Linked DNA regions of Homo sapiens: region 2 is linked to region 1. Evidence: promoter capture Hi-C in human tissues and cell types (Jung and others, 2019). All regions are on one chromosome and are shown on one strand. The core of a region is centred on a gene start or on the middle of the fragment in contact, and the rest is flanking DNA. Distances in the headings are between cores, read along the strand shown.

Evidence for each region. The method cuts DNA at HindIII sites, captures the fragments that hold promoters and counts their contacts. A contact is called where the count stands out against the background at its distance.
Region 2: a fragment that was not itself captured here is called in contact with the fragment with the promoter of SKOR2 in region 1 in 2 of the 25 tissues and cell types used here (spleen and thymus).

The regions. Positions count from the first base shown.
Region 1 is chr18:47,249,269-47,254,195 of GRCh38, forward strand. SKOR2 (SKI family transcriptional corepressor 2) reads right to left here and starts at 2,392. Exons shown (of 9, transcript NM_001278063.4): 1 at 2,106-2,392. RefSeq lists an enhancer at 2,260-2,776. The HindIII fragment of the contact is 10,120 bases long and covers 1-4,280 here.
Region 2 is chr18:47,310,641-47,315,567 of GRCh38, forward strand. All of the region lies in intron 1 of MIR4527HG (MIR4527 host gene), which reads left to right. Among named protein-coding and RNA genes, the nearest start is that of MIR4527HG, 27 kb to the left of the region's middle. The HindIII fragment of the contact is 6,401 bases long and covers 1-4,927 here.

The DNA.
Region 1 (4,927 bases), core at 1,142-3,641:
CAGACTAAAACAGAGGGGTGGGATGAATCGCTAACCAAAGAATTAGAATAACTTTCTTGCTTTGGTTAAGACACGATTATTACTGGAAAAAGTGACCAAGTTTTGAACACAAGAAAGTCATCTCTTAATTTCCTTCAAGGCCATCCTTTAGAAATGCAGGAATTTGCACTTCTTAACATTTAAAGTGAATTAACTATGTATTTTCCTCAAAAGCAGTGAATTCCTAAGAAACCTAAGACCTTATCCCGGATTTATAGGAGCCGTTGGAATAAAATGGCTTGCTTCTAGAAATTAAATAGTAACGATAGTTGTAACTAGTACAGATAATAAAAGTTACGGAAAACTGGGGCTTGGCCATTGAAACCCAAATTTAAAGAGCTGTCATTCTCATTTGCTTGGAGATAGATTGATTTTGGTTAAAAAGTAACCCCCAAAACCCTTTAAAAAGTGATTTTCTTGGTGTCTATGGTTTCCTTGGGGAAATTCATTATTGGTTGAAACACAGGTCATTAAAGCAAAACGAAATCAGCCTTCTCCCTCACCCTTGCCATTAGATATTTTGTTACTGTAATTAGAATTATTTTTTTGAAAAGGTGAAAAATGTACAAAGTCATATACACCGTTGCACCAAAATAGAATGTTTCAGTTTTTAAAAAACCTACTTGCTGAACTGAGTGGTTCTGGTCTCAGATGGTTAGGTAGCTTAAAAACATGAAGTTGAAGATGGTAGTCATTTAAAAACTGTTTTACTGTCATTTCCATGACGATAAGAAAGTAAGTAGAGGCAAGGGTGTTAAACCCAGAAACAGTACACAGGAATGAACAATTCTTGGGGATCTTCATTGGCAGACTTCAAAAGGCAAATTTTTTAGCTTGATGTGAACCACCTTCTGTGACTCTTTTCCCCTAATTTATTTTGATATCTCTATATCTTTATGGGGAAAAGCTGCCCCACCATACAGCCAATCGGTGGACTAGGTAATCTATGGGAGTGTTGAAAGTCGAAATCCCAGGTTGGGTCTGTGGTAAAATTTCTAACTTCACCTCCAGTCAACAGAATGCCACAATGAGGGAAAATATTCAGTAAGTTGAAAATACAGAACAAGGAAGCGGAAAGAAATTTTAGTGACAATGCCACTAAGTGGAAAGAAGGAAAGTGGCTCACTCCCTAGGAAAACAAACACTGATCTTTCCACAGCTACATCTCAAGCGCATTGGCCAAGGCATGCTTTGCCCTGAAAAATCACCAGAGGCCATAGCGTGGCCCCTTTCGGCCACGTACAGCGAGTTCGCTATTACAGTGCTTTCAGAGGGTACACGATCTTACTCCCTCACCCAATTTCTTATCCGTGTCCTCTCTCTGGGCCCCTGTGGCATCTATACAGCAGCCTCTGTCCTGCTGCCCCCTGGATCCTCAGTTCTCATTACATTTGGCGGCCTCCAGGAAGCTTGAACAAACCTCGACGCGATCAAAGGAGAGGAAAGCCTGCTTGTCACTTTGGGTGGATCAGAGACAATATTTCCAGGGGACAGGGCGTTACATGGCAGTTCAAGGCGCAGTGACACCCGAGTCTGATACAACCAACACTAGCTTCGTCAGGTGGCCCTTCGATGCTCATTTCCCTACCAAACAAGATTCATATCCGCTTAATAAGACCCTGGGATAATTCCAACTCTCGCTCCCCAGCAAGGCGCGCGGCTGGCCAGCCGGGGCGGGAAGCTGGCTCTGCGTTAAGGACTCGCAGCCTTAGCAGCAGTAGACCAGGCAGAAGTGTCTCCTCACTTTTACCCCAAGCCCTCCCAGAAACTGCCGTCAGAGCAGACACAAGGTTTTGGTTGGGGCATTATTTTTTGGGTGGGTGGGGAGGGGAGAAGAGACAATTAAAAGTTAGTTGAACTGAGAAAGGAACCTGGTGAACTTCCCTATCCTGCCCAACAGCCAAAGACCCCCCCACCCCCAACTTAGTTCTCCCGACTCCCAAACCAGTCACCACGGAAGCCCACCGCTGCCCCTCAACCTAACGCGGAAAATCCTACCGCTGGGGATCTCAAATAGGTGCCCAGCAAGCTGTGTGCCGGATTGGGGCGGCCGGTTCCGGCAATACCTGGTAACCTCTGGGTGTCTTTAGGCGTGTGGCTGCCGGCCCATCTTCCGAGGGCGCTCGGAGGCGAAGCATCCAAGCGGGTCCTCGTATCCAGCGGGCGGGACTCTGGCGGGCTCCGCGCGAAGATCCGGGCTCTGGCCCGAGCGAATGGCGCTCAAACCCCGGCCTGGGGAGAATGACGGCCTGAATTGCGGCGGGGCGTCCCCTCCACCGCAGAAAGTGTGGGTACGCAGAAACCCGCGGCAGGAGAGCCCCAAGTGGAGCGCAGTCTGACAGCGTCTGTCTCTGAACTCGTGTCGGACCGAGGGGACGCCACCCAGCGGGCAGGGTGACGTCACCGTCTCCCTGACACTCCACATTAAAGGGCTGGCATGTTACAGGGAGGGAGGGGGAGAGCGAAAGCCAGCGCGAGCAACAGAGAGATCCTTTCTCAGCAGGCACGAAAGCTACCAACCTAACCAACTCGCAATTGACAACAACCTCCTCAGCCCCGGAGTAAACTGCAGCAATGGTGCTGGAGCCGCAGATCTGATTTAGGAGTGGAAAGCGAACAGTCTGCCTGCATCCCGGGACCTAGATCCTGGAGGCCCCGGATTCTAGAAGGACGCCTCCAAATTAACTATATCCCTGACCGTTATTGTCTCCTCCCCTCATTTCTGAGTCACCCTCCTTCATGAATGATCCCTCTGGTACAGGATGCAAAGCTGCTCTGTGTCTGAAGACAGAATCCACAGTCAGCTGGAGAATAAATTAGCTTCAGTGACTCCTTTGAAACGCTATGAAATGAGAAAAAGGAGAGAAGTTTCCACATAGGGTGCCCAATCAGAAAACTTGGAGTGCCCCGACTTTTGCATATACATTTGCTTTATAGGACAAGATGCAGAGTCACTGCAGCCTTCTCTATTTTATGGAGTGTACAATTAGGTGAGGACCCCAATATGTGCATATGCACATCGATTTATCAAACTTCATTCAGAATCGTCCTCTAACCCATTTTACAAGATCCGTAAGGCTACCTCTACACAAGGAAAGGGTGGGGCAGGGAAGCAGGGAGGTCCCCCACATGGAAGAGTCCTTCAGCAAGTTGCCAATTTTCCTGGAGAAATAAATAAATTTAATCAGGAAAACATGTAGAAGCATGATCTCCTCCCCTAAAATAAAGACTAGGATGAGAAAACATTTCCTCACAGTTTCCCTAAATGAGGCGCACCCTAGTGTATTAATGAAGTGTCAATATAGTGCGTCCCAATTGACCAGCTGTTAAGAGTCAAAACGACCACTGGCTAGTTTATCGGAAAGGAAAGAAACCACTTATTTGGAGTATGTTCTAAGAAGGATGCCGGCTGGGGTGGGGCTGGGAAATCCTTTAAGTTTTTCCTTTACTACCATAGCTGAATTTTCAATTGCTGCCTAGTGAAACAGTCCTAGCATTGTGGAAATGATGGAAAAACATCTACCAAGCTGAAAGCCCACCCAGATTGTGTCATAGCACCAACAACATACCACTCCTAAATACAAGAGCAAAAATGTGAAATCTTAACCTTCATCAAAGGTTAATAAACCCAAGGAAAGTCAATTGAACAGAAACGTGAGGGGCTTGTTGCTCAGGAGTTGTGTCTATTTTAAATTAATATCCTGAAAACACAGTTACAGAGACATGAAAATCGAAACGTTTGGGCATAAGTTTCAACGGGCAATGAAAGAATTTTTCACCCATCTTCTAGTTTCTAAAGACATTCAAGGCACAAATTGGGCTTTATCCTAAGGGGCTGAAATCAACCTAGTGCTCCCCCGCCAATACCCCAAAGCCTCCCATCCTAAAAAGAAGGAAAACTCACACTTTCTGCCTACCCAGCCCATTGGCCAAAAGCGCGCCATTGTCATTCACAAATCCCTTCTCTCTGAGGCCGAAGGCTCAGTGCTCTTTAGAAGGTTTCAGGGCTAAGCTGGTTCTTTTCCCCTCCTCTGCCTCCTCTCTGGGGTCAGGGGCTCCCACAAAGGGAAACGTTCCCAGTTCCCAGACTGCCAGGAAGAAATCTTGAGCCACGTGGAAACGAACCCTGGAAATGGGGCTGATTTTACGACTGAGAGCGGGAAGAAAGGAGAAGTCCTATCACCTCTCTAACTACCACAGGGAAATATCTGGTTGCTGCCGGGGAGGGAGAACTACGAGGTCTTCACTTTTGATTGTACAGTTCCCATTGTTACCCCACAAAGCTCCTCTTCCTCTTACAGATCCCTATCTTTTAAAAAAGAGTGTCTTCAAAAACAGATTTATTTGACAAGAGAAATGGGCTGAATCTTTGCCTTCCCTCCCATTCCAGGTTACCCTGAGGACTGAATCCACATCTGGGTGGCACCTGTAGCCACTTCCTTACCTGAATTTTAAAACAGAAACATTTACAAATTACTTTTGGGCTTACTGCCTACAAGCCTTAACTTTCTTCCCCAGTGCCCTCCCACCCTACAGGACAAACAGGATACACAACTTTAATAGAAAAAGGTTTCATTGGAAGGAAAAATGAGTGGTATTAGGTTAAATAATTTTACACAATTCTAAGAATAGTTCAGTGTTTTATTTCCCCTATGAGTCTAGGGTGCCTGTTTAAAAAGTCAGGTCAATTATATATTTTTGGAAGGTAAAAGTGGATAACAGTTATTCAAAGACTTCACACTTGCCCCCAGTGAATCCTCATCTTGAGACCAGAGCTGGACTGCAGAATCACAGCCTGTTGGTATATTTTGAGTCTGCGAGCAACCTTCTGCCACCCACTGTCTCTGTGACCCTTTGTTTTCTCCTCAGTTTGAACAAGTCTCCTGCT
Region 2 (4,927 bases), core at 840-3,339, 61 kb after region 1:
TAAAAAGCACTACAGTGACAAATCTTCCCATACCTCATTAGTGCATTCCCCTCCACTGTGTTACCGCTGTTATGGGGTCTGTGGTACCCTCTCAGAGTGTCTCATGAAAGCAAATATTGATAGAGATTCTTCTTTCCTCTCACCCACTTTCTGTACAAAATGAAGCATTCTAGGCATATTGCTCCACATGCCACTTCTTTCACTTAATGCATTTTAGATTTCTTTTTACATTGGTACATAAAGGATTTCACTTTGGGTTTTTTTTTTTTTGTTCACAGAGATGGACGGCCTGGCCTGGTCTGGTTCCTCAGTGAAGAGGAGCCCACCACTTCCTGTGCCAGTCCACTTCTTTGTTGGACAACTGTAGGGGTTTAATTCAGTTGCATTCAATGTTGATGGAGTAGCTACTGGGTCTTATGCACTCACTGAGTGGTGAGAGGGCACAGCCCTTGTCCCCAGGGAATTAACAGCTTGATGAGGATGGCAGATACATGGATTAACCCTAATGCACCGGGAGCCTTGTGGCAGGGTCCCTGCCTAGCCTAGGGGGCAGTATGAGGGTGACACTCAAGAGGAGGAGGTATTCAGCTGCATATTAACAATCTGTATTCATTTTCTGTGGCTGCTTTCACTAGTTACCACCCTCTTGGTGGCTTTAAACAACAGAAATTTATTCTCACAATTCTGGAGGCCAGAAGTCTGAAATCAGTTTCGTGGGGCTGAAATCATGGTGTTGGCCCGGCCATGTTTCCTCTGGAGGCTCCAGGAAACAGTCCATTTCTTGCCTCTTCTGGTGTCTGGTGGCTGCTGGCATTCCTTGGCTTGTGGCTCCACTCTTGGCCCCAGCCTTCACATTGCCTTCTCCTCTTTGGTTTGAGTAAAGTCTCCCTCTGTGTCTTTTGTGTAAGAACACGTGATTGTACTTAGGGCCCACCTGGATCATCCAGGATCATCTCCCCTTTTTTAAGATCCTTACATCTGCAAAGACTTTTTTTTTTCCTGTAAAAATAACATTCATAGGTCCCAGGGATTAGTTTTTGATATCTTTTGAGTGGTCATTGATCAGCCTGTAGCAGAAGAGCGGAAACAGCCTGCTGAGGAAGGAAAGGAAAGTATTCAGGAGGGAATGCGCATGTGCAAGGCACAGGGAACTCTGCAAACTCTCTCTTCCCAGAGTCCATGGCCTCTGGCCATGTGAAGAAATGGCACAATTCTTCTAAATCTTCATTTGCCCTGGATGGGCCTGCATCTGTCTTTGCTGATTCTTTGGAGGGTGCTCTTATGGCTGTGGGCTCTGTGGCTGCACTGGAGGTCTCTAGTTCCTGGCCTTTCACAGTCTGCACCTGTGTCCTCCACTCATGTTGTAGAACAAAGCTGGTCCCTAGGGACATTGGAAAGTGAGGGAGGTTGGTCTTCAGTGTCTTCCTCCCTTTGTGATGCTTTTTCTCTACTCTCTTCAGATGATTTTATTTATTCCTTCACAAACATATATTCAGCTTTGTCTACATGCAGGTCCTGTTTCTGGTACTGGGGATAGGGTGTTGAATGAGACAGGTGAGATCTGTGCACTCCCAGAGACTGTAGTTTAGAGGAAGAGGCAGTGGGATAAACTAGTGAGCAAATATACAAACAAGCTCATTTCAGACAGTGGGGAATGCTGTGAAGATACCGAACAGGGCCATGAGATAGGAAGTCGGTGAGTGGAGATGGGAAGGGCAGGGAAGACTTCTTAGCAAGGTGACATTTAGGTGAGTCAGAATGACAAGCAGCAGCCTGGTACTTGAAGTCTTGGGGTAGAACATTCCAGCAGGGGTGTTAATGAGCACTAAGGCCCTATGGAGGAAGGAGCTGGAGAGTTAACAGAAGTGAGAGAGGGGGTGGCCAGAGGTGACATTGGAGACACAGAAAAGGGCCAGCTCATGTACAGCATTGAAGGGCAACTTCAGGACATTGCTTTTAATCTAAAGAAGCTGGGAAGTGATATTAGCTGGGGTTTGCCCCAGGTGCTGCCAACAGCAGGTGCACATGCCAGGGAGCCAGAGGATGCATGAGTCTCTCCTCAGGAGCCTGAAGACACATGCCTGGCAGTCATAGGGGCACTGGAAATAGTTAGATTTGGGTCTGAATAAGCTCATCCAAACAGTATAAATGGAGATGAGAAAAGACCCCCAGGCTGAGATCTGAGTTGGCCAATACTGAGATGGCAAGCAGAGGAGCAGGTACCAATGAACGGACAGAGAAGAAGAGGCCTGGGAGGTAGGAGGAAAACCAAGAGGGAAGAACGCATTTCAAGAATGCAGAGCGGTCAAGGTTCACCTGTCCTGTCTCCCTGAAAGGAGGACTGCTGGCAAATAAATTCCTTCGGCAATGTAAAGTCTCCTGGAATGAGTGTTTTTGAGAGAAATCAAACCCTTAAGCAAGAGTTCAGTATTATTAACGCAGTATTGCAGGGAGGGTTTTCCCTGCCATGTCTTTGGGCCTTAGTGATGTCAATTTATAACCTTTTTGAGGTTATCCTGTTGGAGGTAGAGCCAGGAGGCTGAAGACTGTTGGCAGGGAGGAGATCAAGACACCATGTTGTAAGCACTTAAAAATTAAACTCAGCCTGTGATATGGCTGTTTAGAGAGACATTCCTTTTGTTTCAGGATGGAAGGCAACATCATTCTGTAGCACCACATTGCTTCTGAGTGGACACTTGCCATTGTCTCAAGCTACCTGTTAGGTTGGGATCTAACAAGCCAGACATCTGCTCCTCCAACAGAGCTGCTAACACTACCAACAGGACATTCTGAAAATCGTGTCAAATGTAATTGTAAGTGTTTCTACAGGGATCTAAGTGCAGATTTAACTCATTTAACCCCTTAGTGAATGGCAGGACTAAGTCAGGGGATGCTGGACTAGGGACTCTGAGGCCCTTACAACCTGAGGAGTCTGTGATCCTAGGACAAATTCTTCATTAAAATGATTGAGTGATGATGGGATAAGCTTTCATAAATGCAGCTGAGGCACAAGATTTCTTATTCAGCAGAGGCAGTTTTTGCTATATCATTCAAATAGTATGAGCATGGCTGCCAGCCAATGCATGGACAGGCCTCCTTTTTGTGAGCTAATCATCTATGTAGCCTTTCCCTAAAAGTACCCATGAGATGAGGATCAGATCCTTTGGTGTGGCATGCAAGCCCCACTTCAGTCTGGCCCCAACCTGCCTCTGTTGTGTGCTGTTGCTGCAGTCTCTTCCCACCCCCATCCTCATATTCACTGCTGGACACGTCTCCCCTCATGCTCTCTGCCTGCCCATCATCCAGCCCCTGGCACAGGACATCCCTGACTGCCTGCCTGCTGACCGCCTGCCTCCACTTCAACGGGACTTCCAGTTCCTGGCCTCTTCTCCAGCCTCTGCTTTGTTCACTCTTCCATACCCAGCTGGCATAAGATGACTCGTTTTGCAAAAAGCTGCTATTGTCCAGCACATCTTCCTGCAGCCTGAACATACTGTGCTTCTCCCTCCAGTTCCTTAGCCTCTCATGTGAACAGCTCCTCTCTCTGCTCTTCCAACAAGACTCCCAAGTTTTTCCCCTTCCAGGAAGAGGATCCTTACTACATCAGCCCTTGGTAAGCTCATCTTTGCACTTATTCTCTATAACTTCCACATGGCCTGTATCCCATGCTGTCTAGTGATAGCTTCTGTATTTCATTGACTGCTGCTATTGCATGATACTTGCTAGGGACCCCTTCAATTCATATGTTGAAGCCCTAGCTCCAAAGTGACTATATTTGGAGACAGGAATTTAGCAGGTAATTAAGGTTAAATGAGTTCTTAAGGATGGGGTTTTAACCTGATAGGATTGGTGGCCTTATAAGAGGAAGATCTCTCTCTCTCTCTTTCTCCCTCTCTCTCTCTTCCTCTCTCTTTCTTCCTCTCTCTCTCTCTTCCTCTCTCTCTCTCCCCCCCCTCTCTCCCTCTCTCTCCCTCTCTCTTCCTCTCTCTCTCTTTTCCTCTTCCTCTCTCTTCCTCTCTCTCTCTCTTCCTTTCTGTTTCTTCCTCTCCCTCTCCCTCTCTCCCCCACTCCACCCCTGAGGAAAGGCCATGTGAGTACACAGTGAGAAGGTGACCATCTGCAAGCCAGAAAGAGGGCCCTTACCAGAACCCAGCAGTGTCAGCACCCTGATCTCAGACTTCCAACTACCACTGAAAAAGACAGAAAGGAGAGAATATGGTGGAATGTGGCTCTCCCTAGACAATTGTCAGAAAGCTCAGTTGGTTCTCAGTTTTGGGGGATTAGGAGCAATTCTGCTGGAGGCAGAGGGTTGAACCAGATGACCTCTTGGATTCCTTCTCTCTGATGATGCTGGGAAGACATTTCTCATGGTCTTGAACCACGAGATAAATTGCTGCTGTTTAAGCCACCCAGTCTATGGTATTGTGTTATGGCAGCTGGAGCTAAGATGATATCTATTGTCACTTCTATGTCTTATCTGCCCAATAAACTCTGTGCTCCTAGACCAAATTTGTGGGTTTTTAAAAATTTTAACTTATGCTTAACATGCATCAGAAAGATACTCATATTCTAAGTATATAGCTTGCTGAATGTTTACAAACTGAACACACCTATGTGACCAGTGCCCAGACCAAGGAATGCACATCACCAGTGCCTTGATGCCCCTGCCATGCCGCCTTCTAGCCTCCTCTAGCCACAAAGGCAGCTACCACTCTGACTCCCAAGTATAGATGAGTTTTGCCTAGTTTTGCACTTTATGTAAATGGAATCATAAAGTATGAACTTGTTTGTGTCTGGCTTTCCATTTATGAAATTCATCCATACTCTTGTGTGTGGCTGTAGGTTATTCATTCTCATTGCTGTACAATAATCCACTGTGGAAATATACCACAATCTAGTTATTTACTCTACTGCTGATGGGCATTTG